Regions from separate parts of the Homo sapiens genome. Here region 1 is linked to region 2. Evidence: promoter capture Hi-C in human tissues and cell types (Jung and others, 2019). All regions are on one chromosome and are shown on one strand. Each heading gives the region's core, a stretch centred on a gene start or on the middle of the fragment in contact. The rest is flanking DNA. Distances are from core to core; before and after follow the strand shown.

Region 1 (7,116 bases), core at 1,819-4,318, 180 kb after region 2:
GTTTTTCGTCCCTCTCTGAGGCCATTATCCAAGCTGAAACCACCTTTTATAAGAAAAAAGTTTAAAGAAAAAAAATTTAACAAACACAAATAATAATAATAACCCAACATGTTTCGCGTTCTTTGCCACTGCATCGATTTTATTGATTTTCATTCTGCAAACCTGGGAATGTGCGCGCTCGGGAGGGGAGGCTGTCAAAACCCAGTCATCGCGGGGACTGGATGGGGGACAATTCTCCGACGCCGCGGCCTGGACCCGCCCCCACCCAACCGGCGCACCACCTCCCAGGCACCACGGAGCCTGCGCAAGCTGCGGGGCCGTAAAGGAACCGGCCCCCAATCTCCGGGGCTTCAGTCCCGCCCCTCTCTCCCCCCAGTGCCCTGCAGCGCTCCCAGGGTCCGTGTCTGCCCTCCCCAAGCCCCCACTGTCAATACAATCCCTGTTAAAAAAAAAAAATCTTTTTAGAGCCAGGCACGTGCCGTCGGCCTCTCCCCTGCCCGCCTGGCCCAGGAGGCGCCCACACCTGCGCCCTCACTTGCCGAGACTTTTACCTGTGCAGTCCCCGGCGGCGCCTGCAGCCGCGCAGGTAACCGAGAAATGGAAGGGAGGGCTGGGGAGTGAGAAGGACAGAGAGCACCGCCCGACACAACCAGACGCGCGGACCCGGGGCCTCCTCTCTGGACCGGTGCTGGGGCCCTGGTAGAACCAGCTCCGGGAGCCGAAATTGAGCCATGAAGAGTGGGCCGAGGGAGGGGCGAGGGGAACGGGCCTCAGGAGGGAGGGGCGGGCCCGGCGGCACTTCCGTTGGGGGTGGGGCTGCGGGCTGCCGCGCCGGTCCCGCCCCTCCGCCGCGCGGGCCCGCCCGCTCCAGGCCAGGCTCCGCCCCCACCGACTCGGAGCTGGATCTCAGGCCACGGCGCCCCCCCAGTCGCGCCCCCAACCCCGGAGGCCTCGGGCTGAACCGGGTTTCGCAGGAGGGCACAGGGCGGCTCCCTTTTCCTCACCTGGGGGTACTCTCTTTTTAAGTCATAGGAACAGAAGCATCTGCAGACTAGGATCCCAGGCCCAAACTTGCACGTGAGATTTGTTGAAACTTAGGTCATTTGGTACTCCTGACACCTGCCTGGCCCAGGGGTCCTCACGCTCTCTCTGCGGATGTGATCAGCCGTCCTCTTGGACAGTGGGGAATATAGTCCGTGCTCATAGGGTCCCACCTATCTTTCAGGAAGAACAAAAGCAAAAACTAACACTTTTTGATTGTTCATTTTGTGCCAGGTGCCATTTAAAAATTTTGTATGAATTATGTCCTCGCCCACAGCGACTCTCTGAGGTAGGTACCATGAATGCCCCATTTCATAGATAAAGAAATTGAGGCACAGAGAGAAGAAATCTGCCTTGCCTCACCCGCATCCCATCCTCATCCCTTCTTTCCTTCAGATCTGGGGCATGCCAACTCCTTACTCTGGGGGAGTATTGGAGGGAGAATTCTACTTTTCTGATGGGGGAGTACCAGCCTGTTAACCACAACCATTTGCAGCTGAAGCCAGTGCAGAGCAGGAGGGAGATCTGCACAGAGGAGAACAGTATAAATGGCATGGGGTCATCTCAGCCCCTGGCCAGCTCCCAGCCTAATGGGAAAACCGGACCATTGAGCATTCCTTGCTGTTTCCCTGTAGTCCCAGCCCAAGCCAGCATGCTCTTTTTTTAAAAAGCAAATCCAACCATGTTTCTCTTCTGCTTAAAGGCATCCGGGTTCCCATTGTTCTTGAGAACAAGTTGAGCTTGCCTCCCCTGGCTGGCGGGTCTACACTGGCTCTGCCCCAGCTTGCCTTTCTGCCTTTGTCTGCCTCCACACCCCCTCACCTGGAACTCCTGCTACCCAAGGCTTCCTTTTAGTTCCTCAAATGTGCCATGCTACTCCCCACCTCAAGGGCTTTGCTCCTGCTTTTCTCTGTCTCTCTGGAATGACCTGTCCTTCTCTTCACCTGGCTTGCGCATACTCTTCCTTCAGGTCTCAGCTCACACATCACTTTCCTGCATCCTCCCGCCTCCCATTACCCTCACTTATAATAGAATTTCCTGTTGAGAGTCTGTCCGCTTCACTGGATGGTAAACTCCCAGGGGGTAGGGACTAGGGCCGTTCCTTCAAGGAACAAATGAAGAAGGAACATTTGTATAAACCACCAACTATGATGAACGAATGAAACTGCCCTTTTTGGGGCCACCAGTAAGTATTCTCCATGGTCTCACATTCCAAGATGTTCTCAACTTAATGAGGGCGATGATACAAATCTCATGAAAACATATGTTATTTTGAATGCCTTTATTGTAAATGTCAAATAAGGGGATGCTGGAGGAGGTTGGAGAAGAGGAATATGCATGGATTACAGCCATTTATTCAGGGTTTCAAGATGCAAGATGTGTTGGTTGACACAATTTAATGGAAAACCATGCCACCCACGACCATCTCCCAGTGTTGGGCATGTATGTCTCAAGGCTCTAGCCTGCACCCCCTTTCCTCTTCCTTTCTTCACATATTATTGCTATCACAGTTCAGTTCTTACTAGTTTCTGACTTAACTGCTGCTACAAGAACCTTCTAATTGTTCTGCCCATCCTCCACCTCTCCTGCCTCTAATCCATCATACATACTCCTGCTGGGTTAATTTTCCTGACCACATCATTCCCTTACTCAAAACTCTTCAGTGGCTCCCTATGATACAGTGTAACACTTGACTCTTCATAGCCCACTTCCAAACTACTTTTGTAAAGCTTTAAGATGCATTCCAAAATTATGAAAGAAACACATGTTCACCTCAACCAGGAAAACACTCAAAGATATACAAAGAAAAACATCAGTGATCTTCCTCACCTCCTCTGCATTTCCCACCCAGTCTCCCAAGACATCCATTGTTAAGGACCTGGGGTATAACTTCTACCTCTTTCACCATGCTCCATGCTCATAATAAACTATATTCATATATGTGGAGCTATTGTGTTATTGCCTATTTATACAAAAAGGATTATATTAGGGGTCTCTGCAACTCGCTCATTCATTCTTAATAATAAATGGGTCTATAGATATGGAATGAATATATTCATTTTTTAGCTACATAGTAATTTTAATTTATTTTTATTTTTTTTTAATGTATGTATATATGTATGTATTTTAGACAGGGTCTCACTTTGTTGCCCAGGCTGGAGTGCAGTGGCACAAACATGGCTCACTGCAGCCTTGACCTTCCAGACTCAAGCGATCCTCCCGCCTCAGCCCCTCAAGTAGATGGGACTACAGGTACACACCACCACGCCTGGCTAATTTTTGTATTTTTCGTAGAGATGGGGTTTTTCCATGTTGCCCCAGCTGGTTTTGAACTCCTGAGCTCAAGGGATCCACCTGCCTTAGCCTCCCAAACTGTTGGGATTACAGGTCACCATGCTGGCCAGCTACATAATGTTTCATAAGATGTATATACTGCACCTATTCAACCATTCCCCTATTAGTGGGCACATAGATTGTTACCAGGTTTTTTTTGCTAATAAAATTTCTTATGTCTATATCCTTGCAATTAGTGATTTTACTTCTCTAGGATAGTTTACCAAAAGTGCAGCTACTTACACGTCAGCCAAATTGAATTTCTTTGTTCTCCCCACATGCCCTGTGTTTTCCTTCTGTCTCCTCTCCTTGGAAAGCCCTTGTCTTCCACGCTTGTGTGTCTAACTTCCAATCCTGCAATGGTCAAATCTGATACCAGAATTTAGATATATTATCTGATATCCACCTCCCTCCACCTTCCTCATTTGAAAACTGTAGTAGTGTACCAGGCCCAGGCAGTGGTTTGCGATTGGCATAGGCCAATCATGACAATCTTGTTTTCATCTTTCCCTTGCATCCCTGTAGCTGGGTGGCCATGCAACCTATTTTGGCAAATGAGGAACAAGTGGAAGTACAGGGGTGGCAAAGCAGTAAGCGAGTGTTGAGAAGCACTCTATTTTCATGATCAAAGGGGATGATGCCTATGGTTAGACCCTTCCCTTTCCCCTCCTTCCTTGCATGAGCTTGGACATAATATCTACAGCTGTAGTAGCCATCTTGTGACTATGAGGGAAAGTCCTAGAAAACAGAAGAAAGAAACTTAATCCTGATGTCATTGGGACACTGAGCCATCACCAACAATCCTCCTTCTCCAAAACTTTTATTTTGTTAGAAAAATCCCTATTCGTTTAAGCCAGTGAAATTGGGGATTTTTATAATTACAGACAGACATATTCTTCACCTTCTTTAACAAGAAATACCACCCTCCGTCTCAAAAAACAAAAACAACAACAACAACAACAAAAAAACGAAATGCCATCACAGTGGTCCAAAACAGTTTTTAGAAACTTATATTAGAGACTTGCCTTCAAGTATAGTTTTTGAAATAGCCTCAGAAGCAGGCAAACATTTTTATGGCATGGCTTTGGTATTTTAGAATGGCCAAAAGACACCTGGAGGCAAGTGTGGTAATACCTTTAACCTTCAGTGCTACAAGTAAAGTATTGCATGGTGGACATTTAATTTCTTCCTACTCATTTGGTTGCCTAACATCTGAATCCTCTTCCTTGTTGGAAAGCAGGGCCTGCGTCTGATTACTGAAGTGGGAGAGGCCACATCCTCCCTCTCTCTGCCCTCTAACCAATGGATGCTCCCTACCTGGGTCTCAGACTCAAGGGGTGAGCAGAGGATTGTGGTAGTTTGGAAACTCTTCTCAGTAGCAGCAGTGAGCCCAGTGCAATAGCATTGACTAGGAAGGGCAGAGAGGACAGTCACTGCCATGTGCACTGTGATCATGGCAGCCACTCAGGCAGTGGCCTAACTCGGCTGGTATGGTAGCATGGCCAGCCGCATTTCCATTTCCCAGCTGCTGACAGTTCCTGTCCATTTCCCAAGTCTAGGTCTCCAGTCTTCCCACTGATTCTGTGAACTTCCTGATATCCTTCTGATACATTCCTTTTCTGCTTAAGTTAATCAAAGCTAGTTCTGGTCACTCACAACCAACAACGTCAACTGATTTGCCATAGCCTGGCTGTTCAGGTGGCTTCTAAACAGGTCCAATGGTGATTACTTCTTAGTTGTGTCTGTGGGTTCCTATGATGGGTACTTGTGTGGGACTCCAGCACCAAACAGCCTGGCTGAATACCAACCTAGCCAGGTAACGACTTCAGCTGAAAAACTGATCAATGCAGTAAAGAGAAGCAGTCAGGTCAGCATTGAGTGAGAGAATCACACTTGGTTTTACTGAGTGCCTACTGTGTCCTGGACACAATTCTAGGTAGCTTACAACATTATCTTACCTCTTACCAAAGCCCGGTGAGAAAATGATTTTTATCTCCATCTGGTTTGAGAATGTACAGAATTTTTTCCCTTCTAGCCCTTCCCTCCCACAAGCCTGGATGACACCCAATATGTCTGATGAAGGTGTCTAAGGCATCAAAGGACACTGTCAAGATCGACCGCCTTAGGAAACAATCAACTCTGCTTCTTCTTAGCAGAGCTTAAGAGCTTAAGAAACTGGTACCTTGGGGTGCTCAAAAATGTTTGTGGAATGCAATCAATGGCACAGAAACATCTCCAGGGGACATTTCCTTGGGAAAGTCATGGCCTGAAGCATTTGAGGTCTTGTGTGAGTATTGGGGGAGTACCAGGGAAGAGGTAGGTTTTCCCTACTCACTGCACTGCACTTTCCCAAACCTTGACCTTGGCCAATATGCTTCATGTCTCTGGGCTTAGTGTTTATTCTTCTTTTCTCTTCTTTTTCTGTCTCTATCCCTACTTTTTCCCTTCATTTCCCCTCACCTTTTCTGTTAATCAAGGCATTAATAAGGACACAAATGATGTCATCTTACTTTTATTGCCTACATAGTCTACCATATGCATCAACTACATTCAGTAAATATAGGTTAGGCCAGGTGTGGTGGCTCATAGCTGTTATCTCAGCACTTTGGGAGGCTGAGGTGGGAGAATTGCTTGAGGTCAGGAGTTTGAGACCAGCTTGAGCAACATAGTGCGACCCTATCTCTACAAAAAATGAAAAAAATTAGCTGGGAGCGGTGATGCACACCTGTAGTCCCAGCTACTCAGGAGGCTGAGGTGGGAGGACAGCTTGAGCCCAGGAGATGGAGGCTGCAGTGACCTGTGACAGCACCACTGTACTCCAGCCTGGGAGAGCAAGACCCTGTCTCAAAAAAAATTAATATATAGGTTATATAAATAGATTTTTAAAGATTTGACTTTCTTAGTCCCCACCTTTGTAACTGAACATGCTGCCCCGCAGTGACTCCTACCAGCTCTTTGACCACATTCTCATATTCACAACGTTTTACTTGAACAGCCAAAGGCTTTATCATGTTCTCAGTCTCCCTGCCCTGCTGCTTCAGAAGAAAAGGGCGACCAGCCCCTTCAGCGGGGGTGGAGGTGTGCAGTGAGAAGTGGCAACAGTGGCCCAGGGAGCTGGCTGGTGTTGGGAGGGTGGGTCTGCCAGGCTGTGGCGGGGTGGGGGGGGGCAGGCACCACTGGACCTGCCACCAATGTGGCAGGATTGGGGGGATCTGGTGGGGATCAGCTCTGACCACTAGCATCATCTTTGACCTCTTTCCCCCTTAATCATAATTAGCACCCAGACTGTGTTGACTGATTCTCCCTTTGAAATGGGAGATCCACAAGCATTTATGGAAGGAGCAAATGAGTTACTTCCTGCAGAACCCAGGTGTGAAAGGAGTTAGTAAACATGCCAGAATGAGGCCGGCAGTCACGGGAACCAAATGTAGATTAACCCAAAATGTCACAAAGATAAAAAGTAGGGGAATAAGGGCTTTTTAGGAAGGATGGCATTCCATCTTCCCCGAAATGCTTCTGCCTCAAACTCAGTTCTCCTCAACACCCATCTGAAATCCTCCTACGGTAGCCTCCCCTAGTCCTACCTTCCCAAACACTGCTTTGATTGGATCCCACATTGCTCCAAACCCTCATGGACAATTCATTTTCTGCCAAAAAGCATTTCATGTGCCTTAGCTTCTCTCCTTCAATCCGTTTTTTTTTTTTTTTTTTTTTTGAGATGGAGTGTCACCTACTCTGTCA
Region 2 (7,568 bases), core at 2,916-5,415:
GCATACAGAAGAGGAGTAAGGTGTAGACAGTGAGGGTAACCTGAGGGACTGTGAGAGGTCATTACTCATTTCCTTCTAGGCAGACACACTGAAAGGTGGGTATAGGTAGGAGACCAGAGACAACCCCTTTAGGCTGCGTGGCATTGGCCTTCATCTGGGCATGAATGAGACATTAATAGGTGGTTCTGGCTGGAAAAGTAGGTAAGAGTACGTTTTCTGATGGGAGAAGATAATTGGATATGATTAAAGGTTGGAGAAGATTTGTTCAACAAATCTGTAATAGACCTGAAGAATGGTAGAACCTGAGTGATAAGAAATGGGTAAGAAAATGGAAGGACTTATCACCCAAGAAATGATACATGCTACAAACTTCCAGGTTGAGAAGAAGCTGGTGAGAGACCAGAGCTCAAGCAAGCTCTCCACACAGGAGGGTTGGGGGCATGAAGACCCCTCTGGTCCCACTATTCCTAGGGGACTGGCTTGAATGGCCCATGTGAATCATGGTTCTCTGGAAGGCCCTCTCCAGACAGACATGACTTAAGTGACAGAGGGTTAGAATTTGAGCCAGCTTGAGTCAGGTAAGAGGAGAAACATGAAAAGATGTCCATGCAGGCTAGGCCTGAAAGCAACTCCAGCAGTGTGAAGTAGACCCGCAGGCAACTAACCACTGCTGGTGGTCCTTCAAAGAGAAAAACCCTAGTCATGGGGACTGCTGCCCCTTAGCTAATGGGTGGCCCTTTATTGGGCAGTGGCTACAGTAATTTGGACTGAGGTGTGGCACGAGTGAGTTAACTGTTTTGTCAAGGATTTCCTTAGAGTAAATTGAACCTATTCACCCACATGCATCCTAATATGCTTTTATGAGTTAGAAAAGGGTAGGTTTCCAGCCGTGGTCTTGCGTAGTGTCCAAAATGCAAAGTTTGTCCCAGGAGCTGTGAGCTCGTGTGGCTTTTTTTTTTTTTTTTTTTTGAGACGGAGTCTCACTTCGTTGCTCAGGCTGGAGTGCAGTGGTGCGGTCTCGGCTCACTGCAACCTCCGTCTCCCGGGTTCAAGCAATTCTGCCTCAGCCTCCCGAGTAGCTGGGATTACAAGCGTGTATCACCACACCTGTCTAATTTCTGTATTTTTAGTAGCGACCGGATTTCACCATGTTGACCAGGCTGGTCTCGAACTCCTGACCTCAAATGATCCACCTGCCTCAGCCTCCCAAAGTGCTGGGATTACAGGCGTGAGCCACTGTGCCCAGCCTCATGTGGCTCTTTTAGCTCTGCTTCCATCAGTCTCCAGGGACACTTCCCACCACCGAGGCTTACCAGGTAGTGGCAAAAGCTGCTTGAATTCCAGGCTAATGCCACTTATGCCTGAGGCAGTGTCAGTGGAAAGAATTTGACCATCTGCCAGTGGAGATAAGATCTGTGAGGTTGGGGAGATTTAAATAAGCAGAGCACCTGGGTCGAAGGTGCTCCATGAGGCCTGGTTCCTTCTCCACCTCCCCTCATAGGCAGATGGTTCAGGAAAGCCTGAAGTTCTCTTCATCCTCTAGGGAGTGTAGTAACAACTGCTGTACCTATAGGCTTGTCTGCTTCACGCCTCCCTGGCCAGTGATCCCCCTCACTTAAGAATTTCAAGGAGACGGCAGGATACTCAAGTCAACCCCACGGCAGGATACTCAAGTCAACCCCGAGGTCCTCAGGTCCAGGCCAACTGGCCTGGCTCTTAGAGGTGATGTTCCCCCACCAGGGCCTCCACTGGAGAGGTGAGGCTGGGGAGCTGACTGTGCTGTGAAGACATGAGCAAGCCGCCAGCAGAACTGGCATCACCTACAAAAGCACACAAGTGACACCCGTGGTCCCCTGCAATCCTCTTTCATGTTGTCAGACACCAGACGTGGCTCTCTACCAGTCCCAGCTGCTCAGAACCAGAGCTTCGCCTGCCCTGAGGGAGAGATGTAGGAGGCAGACAAGCCCGAGGTGCTGGGGTCTCTGGCCATTACACGTGGCCAGGCCAGTTAAAACTTTATAACCTGCCTCCTGCCAGCTGGAGGTTCCTGCAGTTGGGCCACAGACCTGGCGCCAGGGAGGGGACGAATCTCAAGGCCCCTTTCACTGAAGGCAGGAGCTGTCTGTGCTGGGCCTTCCCTCCCTTCCCCATCCAGCGCCACACACGGAGGCTCAGGAGGTCGTGTGTCCCAGCCCCACTTTATTTTCGAATTTAAAACTCAGGGTCAATTCCTGGGGTTCCCAGGCAACCCTCCCTCGAGCCCACTCACTAGGGGCCAGCCCTAGATCTTGAAGGCCAAGGTGAGTCCATCGCCCAGGGGCAGGAGGCTGATGTAGACCCTGACGTCCCGCCGGATGCGTTCGTTTAGGTTTCGCACACACTCGGCCGCCACGTCCCCTTTCGGAGGTTGCAGCACCTTCCCGCGCCACAGGACCTGCGGGAGGGCGGGGCCAACCGGGCCGTGGGAGGCGGGGCTTCGGAGGGAGGTGCTCGGGCGGAAGGCGGGGGACTGGGAGGGAGGTGCCCGGGCGGGAGGCGGGGTCTTGGAGGGAGGTGCCCAGACGGAAGGCGGGGTCTCGGAGGGAGGTGTCTGGGCGGGAGGCGGGGCCTCGGAGGGAGGTGCCCGGGCAGGAGGTGACCAGAGCTGGAGACAGAACCAAAGCGGAGGAAAGCCTGGGTACCGGGGCCGGAGCCCCGGAGGGGGTGTAGCCTACGTGACTGGACTGGGTGGGGCTTTGGGGTATAAGAGGAGTCAAGGGAAAAGATGGGGACCCGGCCCGACAGGGTGCTTTCTCCTCCCCCGCAGTGGATCCCTTACTCTGAGGACGGCGAGGATGCCTCCGGGTCGCAGCAGCTGCAGGCAGCGCTCGTAGTAGGCGGAGCAGTTCTCCTTGTCCGCATCCACCACGGCCACGTCGAAGGTGCCGGCCTCGCCCGCCGCCAGCAGCTCGTCTTGCGGGGGGAGGGAGGGCAGGTGCGGCTGAGTCCGCGGCCCCGGCGGCCCTGAGGCCCCTCCCAGGCCGGCCCGGGCTCTGTGACAACCGGCCCTGCCCTTAACCTGCCCGGCAGGCCCAGTCACAGCTCGGCCACACAGCAGCCTCGTTTGCAATGAATGGCTTCAAAGCCCTTCCCGCTTCGGTGCTCACCCAGGGTCTCCAAGGCGGGCTTCAGCCGGAGGTCGATCTTGTGCTCCGCCTCGGCCTGCGGAGGGAGCGGGTCAGCCGTTGCGCCCCCGCCTGGGGCTGCAGAGCTAGGCGCGGGCGCTCACCTGCCTCCACAGGGGCCGTCCCAGCTCCGGGGGCTGCGCGTCCACCTCGCAGGTCACCACGCGCCCGTCCGCGGGCAGCGCCAGGGCCAGGGCCAGGGCGGAGTAGCCCGTGAAGGTGCCTGGGACCAGGACACAGACGGGCTCAGCCCAGAGTGGGGGTCGGCCCGGAAACCTCGGCCCTCCGGGATCCCGGCCGCGTGCCCCTACCCAGGTCCAGCGCCTTCTTGGCCTGGATGAGCCGCGCCAGGTTGGCCAAGAGCTGGGCCTGCTCGCAGGTCATCATAGAATCCCCCTGCGGCTGCTCCAGGGTCAGCTGCGTGAAAGGAGAGGGTGGCACCAGCCATGCAGGTCACCCACCTTCGCCCTGGGGGTCCCAAGCCCCAGGGGCGCGGTTCTGGGCGTGGCCTGGGGGACTGGCCCTTCGGAACGCCCACCGCACCCGGCCCAGGGAAGCCGGAAGCCCAGGGAGGGCCAGGGCCCAGCCCAAGGTCACACAGCCACGTGGGACCCGCAGGGGTCGAGAGGGACGCCCGTTTCCGTCCCGCGCCCTGCTGACCAGCCTCAGGCTTCGCAGCGCCGGGTGCTCCCGCATGGAGCGGCTCAGAAGATACTGCCACAGGCGGCTGTCCTCGGGGGGAAGCAGGCACTGCTCTCGCCGGCCTCGCCATGGGGGGCACCGCCTCCCTGACGGGGAGAGGGTGTTGGATTAACCTGAGCCACGCCGCGCCCTACTCTGCGCCCGCCCACCCGCCCGCCGGGACCAGGTCCTGCTCACCCAGGAAGAGGCCAGTGGCGAAGGCGGCGCCCAGTGCGGCTGAGCCCAGGGCCAGCGCGGCGGGCACGGAGAGCCGGGGCACCGGCTGGGTCATGGCGCGGGCAGGAGGCGGCGGGAGGCAGTGACAGGTCACGTGAGCTGGAGCTCCTGGGACAGGTCTCGGACTCGCGGGCCCGCCGGGCTCCACCTTGTCGGGGCACTACCCGCGGAGCCGCGGTCTCGGGCATCATCTGGCGGCCACACAGCCTTACTGCAAGCCCCGCCCGAGAGAGCCGGGCGCGATCTGGTGGCCGCGCCGGGAACTGCGCCCCTGCGGGGAGCAGGCCAAGCGCCTAGATCTGAATTTTCCCGCCTGTGCCCGCAGTCCAGGTGCCTGCCTCCATTCCCCTCCTGCCAATGCTTTTTTCTCCTCGCCACCATTTATTCTGAGGCCCCTTGGGGGCATATGTGAATTGTGTATGGAGGGCGCCAGTGTAAGTTACAAGATAGTCACAAGTACAAGAGATAGAGATTAAAGGGGGAAGGCCTCCTGGACAAGATGCCCCAAAGCATCAGGCTGAAGGAGTGAGGGAACTGGTTTGAGGGCATGCAGCCTCGAATTGGGGTTCAGGAGCCCTGGGGTGGGCCTGTGGAACTGAGACCATATTCTTAGCTGTTAAAATCCTGCTTTTGGGGGCCAGATGGATACGAGTGTCTAATCTTGGTCCTGCCAGTCTCTCTGAGCCTCAGTTTCCTTCCTGTAAAATGAGGCCTACAATCTTACCATAAAAGGCACCAGATCCCACAGCTTCGCACACAGTAGCACAATACATAAGTGGCAGCTGCTGTTATGTTGGTAGGTTGGAATGAAGACATCTTGGGGAGAAAGCCGGTGAAGCTCCCTTGCAAGGTTGTTCTGTTGAAACACTGTCCAGAGAACACTGATTGAACCCCTACCATGCGCCAAACTCCGGAGGAGGTGAAAGACGCTGACGCTGTCCTTTTTTTTTTTTTTTTTGAGACTGAGTCTCGCTCTGTCACCCAGGCTGGAGTGCAGTGGCACAATCTGGTCTCACTGCAACCTCCACCTCCTGATTCAAGCGATTCTCCTGCCTCAGACTCTGGAGTAGCTGGGACTACAGGCACGCACCCCTACACCCAACTAATTTTTGTATTTTTTGTAGAGACGGGTTTTGCTATTTTGGCCAGGCTGGTGTCAGACTCCTGGCCTCAAGTGATCTGTTTGCCTCGTCCTTCCAAAGTGCTGGGATTACAGGCCTGAGCCATTGTGCCTGGCGTTGGTGTTCTTTTTTTTTTTTTTGGCAAGGTCTCTGGCAAGGCTGAAGTGCAGTGGCAAGATTACTGCTTATTGCAGCATCGAGCTCCCAGGCTCAGCAATCCTCTTGCCTCAGCCTCCCAAGTAGCTGGGACCACAGGCGGTCACCACTGTGCCCAGCTAATTTAAAAAAAAAAATTTTTTTTTTAAAGAGAAGGGGTCTTACTATGTTGTCCAGGCTGGTCTCGAACTCCTGGCTTTAAGTGATCCTCCTGCCTCAGCCTCCCAAAGTGCTGGGATTACAGGTGTGAGCCCCCGTGCCTGGCCTCTGGTTGGTATTCTTAGTGAAGCTGGTTTCAGAGATGCAGGTCACACACAGCTGGCGGGTGGCCTAAGCTTCACGACTTCTGCCTCTGTGAAATGGCGTTATGAATAGTCCCAACCTCCTAGGGGACCAAATGAGAAAATCCAGGCTGAGGACTTACACAGGGGACCAAATGAGAAAATCCTGGCACTTAGTGAGCTGTCATGTTACCTTTAAAAGGAGTCAAAGTCCGAAGGGCAGCCGGTTATCTTCCTGCTGCACTGCAGATGTCCCCTGGGGTGGAGGCTGTAAGAGCCTTTTTTTTTTTTTTTTTTTTTTTTTGAGATGGAGTCTTGCTCTGTCGTCCAGGCTGGAGCCCAGTGGCGCGATCTCAGCTCACTGCAACCTCCGCCTCCCAGGTTCAAGCGATTCTCCTGCCTCAGCCTCCTGAGTAGCTGGGACTACAAGCGCCAGCCACCATGCCTGGCTAATTTTTGTACTTTTAGTAGAGACGGGGTTTCACCATATTGGCCAGGCTGTTCTCGAACTCCTGACCATGTGATCCGCCCGCCTCGGCCTCCCAAAGTGCTGGGATTACAGGCGTGAGCCACCGCACCCGGCCAAGAATCCATTTTAACAACGCTGACTAGGCATTGAGCTCCACTGGGGGGCTTCCCAGGCGGGGGCTCAACCTGAGCGAGGCCCAGAGGCCAGCTTGTTGAGTAGTTAATGAGAGAGTGGCTTGGCTGAGGATGAAGGCCAGAAACTTGCAGTTTCTTGATCTGAGCTGCAGGAACCTTGGGCCTAGCGGAAGCGAGGAAGGAGGAGGCGGAGCTCTGGGGTGAGGCTACGGGCCGGCCTCTAATCAGAGACAGGGTGGGGCTGGTTCTTTGACCAACCAGCCGGCAGCCCCCGAAGCACATGGCTGTGTGGGGGCAGAACCTGCTGTCTCCGTGCATGCGTGCCCTTTCGGCCCTCCTGGGACTTGCCTCCGGGCTAGCAGCACTGCTCGAGGACAAGCTCCTTGCCCTTTACTCTTTGACCCTCTACGTCCCGCTTGGCCTCTAACTTGACCGTGAATCTCATTCTGCGGGTAAGGACTGAGGCTGCTGGTCTCTCCTTCCCAGGCCTGAGCATACAGCAGGCGCTAAATAAATGCTCTTGACTAGAGTTCTGGCGCTGCCTGGCGCTCCTTGCTGCCAGGAGTAAAAATAGTAACAGCAGGGCCCCTTTATTGAGGACCTGCCGGGCACCAGGCACAATGCATCCAGGATCCGGGGGCGGCTGTGATCTTGTTCCCATTTTCCAGAGCAGGAAAGCTCAGAGACCACCGCCCAGACCCTGCAGCCAACAGAGGAAACGCGCGTACCTCTCCCTTGAACCCTGGGACCCAGAGGGAACAGGCCTTCTTGGCTCCTCTGCTGGGACGAGGGCCCAGCTCGAGCTGGCCTGAGGGCCCTGCGCTCAGGTGGTGCCGCTGACCGCTCTCTCCCTTCAGCCCGGGGGTCCAGGTTGCAGCAGGCCCCCAGCTCACACTGAAACTCCCTCCTACAGCCTGGCTTTAGGCCGGAGCGGTGGAGGTTGAGGGGGAGCGGGTGGGGAGGGGAGGCATGTCACCATCTATCCCCGTCAGATTAAAAAACTAATTTGAAAAGATTAATGTATTCCATTCTTGTTACGCTGGCTCTGATACCTCTGGGCCGGCGGCCGCTCTGCTTCCTGATTATTGAATTTTTATGGCCTGGTAATTAATTGCAGATTCCCTGTTTTGTTCTATTTCTTTTTCTCTGACATTTTAATTTCAACAAAAAGCAGTGGTCTCCATGCAGGTTCTCTCTGGAGATCCTAATGGTCTATAAAACAGAATGACTTATAGACGTGGCACCCACTTCAGTTGGCGAGCGATTGTTTGAAACCTTGCTGATGACGCAGAATTTAATTTTTCCACCCCCTCCCCTTTTTGCTA

The links. Contacts are between HindIII fragments. The study calls those that stand out against the background at their distance.
Region 1: a contact is called between a fragment that was not itself captured here and the fragment with the promoter of COMTD1 in region 2, in 1 of the 25 tissues and cell types used here (pancreas).

What each region holds. Positions count from the first base shown.
Region 1 is chr10:75,408,855-75,415,970 of GRCh38, forward strand. It overlaps LOC101929234 (a long non-coding RNA gene), which reads left to right and starts at 303. Exons shown (of 3, transcript NR_110304.1): 1 at 303-586; 2 at 1,276-1,330; 3 at 1,438-2,470. It overlaps ZNF503-AS2 (ZNF503 antisense RNA 2), which reads left to right. Exons shown (of 2, transcript NR_024421.1): 2 at 1-128. The HindIII fragment of the contact is 4,292 bases long and covers 923-5,214 here.
Region 2 is chr10:75,231,792-75,239,359 of GRCh38, forward strand. It overlaps COMTD1 (catechol-O-methyltransferase domain containing 1), which reads right to left and starts at 4,166. Exons shown (of 7, transcript NM_144589.4): 1 at 4,044-4,166; 2 at 3,825-3,952; 3 at 3,476-3,581; 4 at 3,269-3,387; 5 at 3,147-3,201; 6 at 2,819-2,952; 7 at 1,850-2,434. The coding sequence starts at 4,137. The coding sequence ends at 2,282. RefSeq lists an enhancer at 2,115-2,264 and silencers at 2,895-3,124, 3,285-3,574, 3,705-3,784, 3,945-4,084, 4,120-4,414 and 1 more. The HindIII fragment of the contact is 14,083 bases long and covers 1-7,568 here.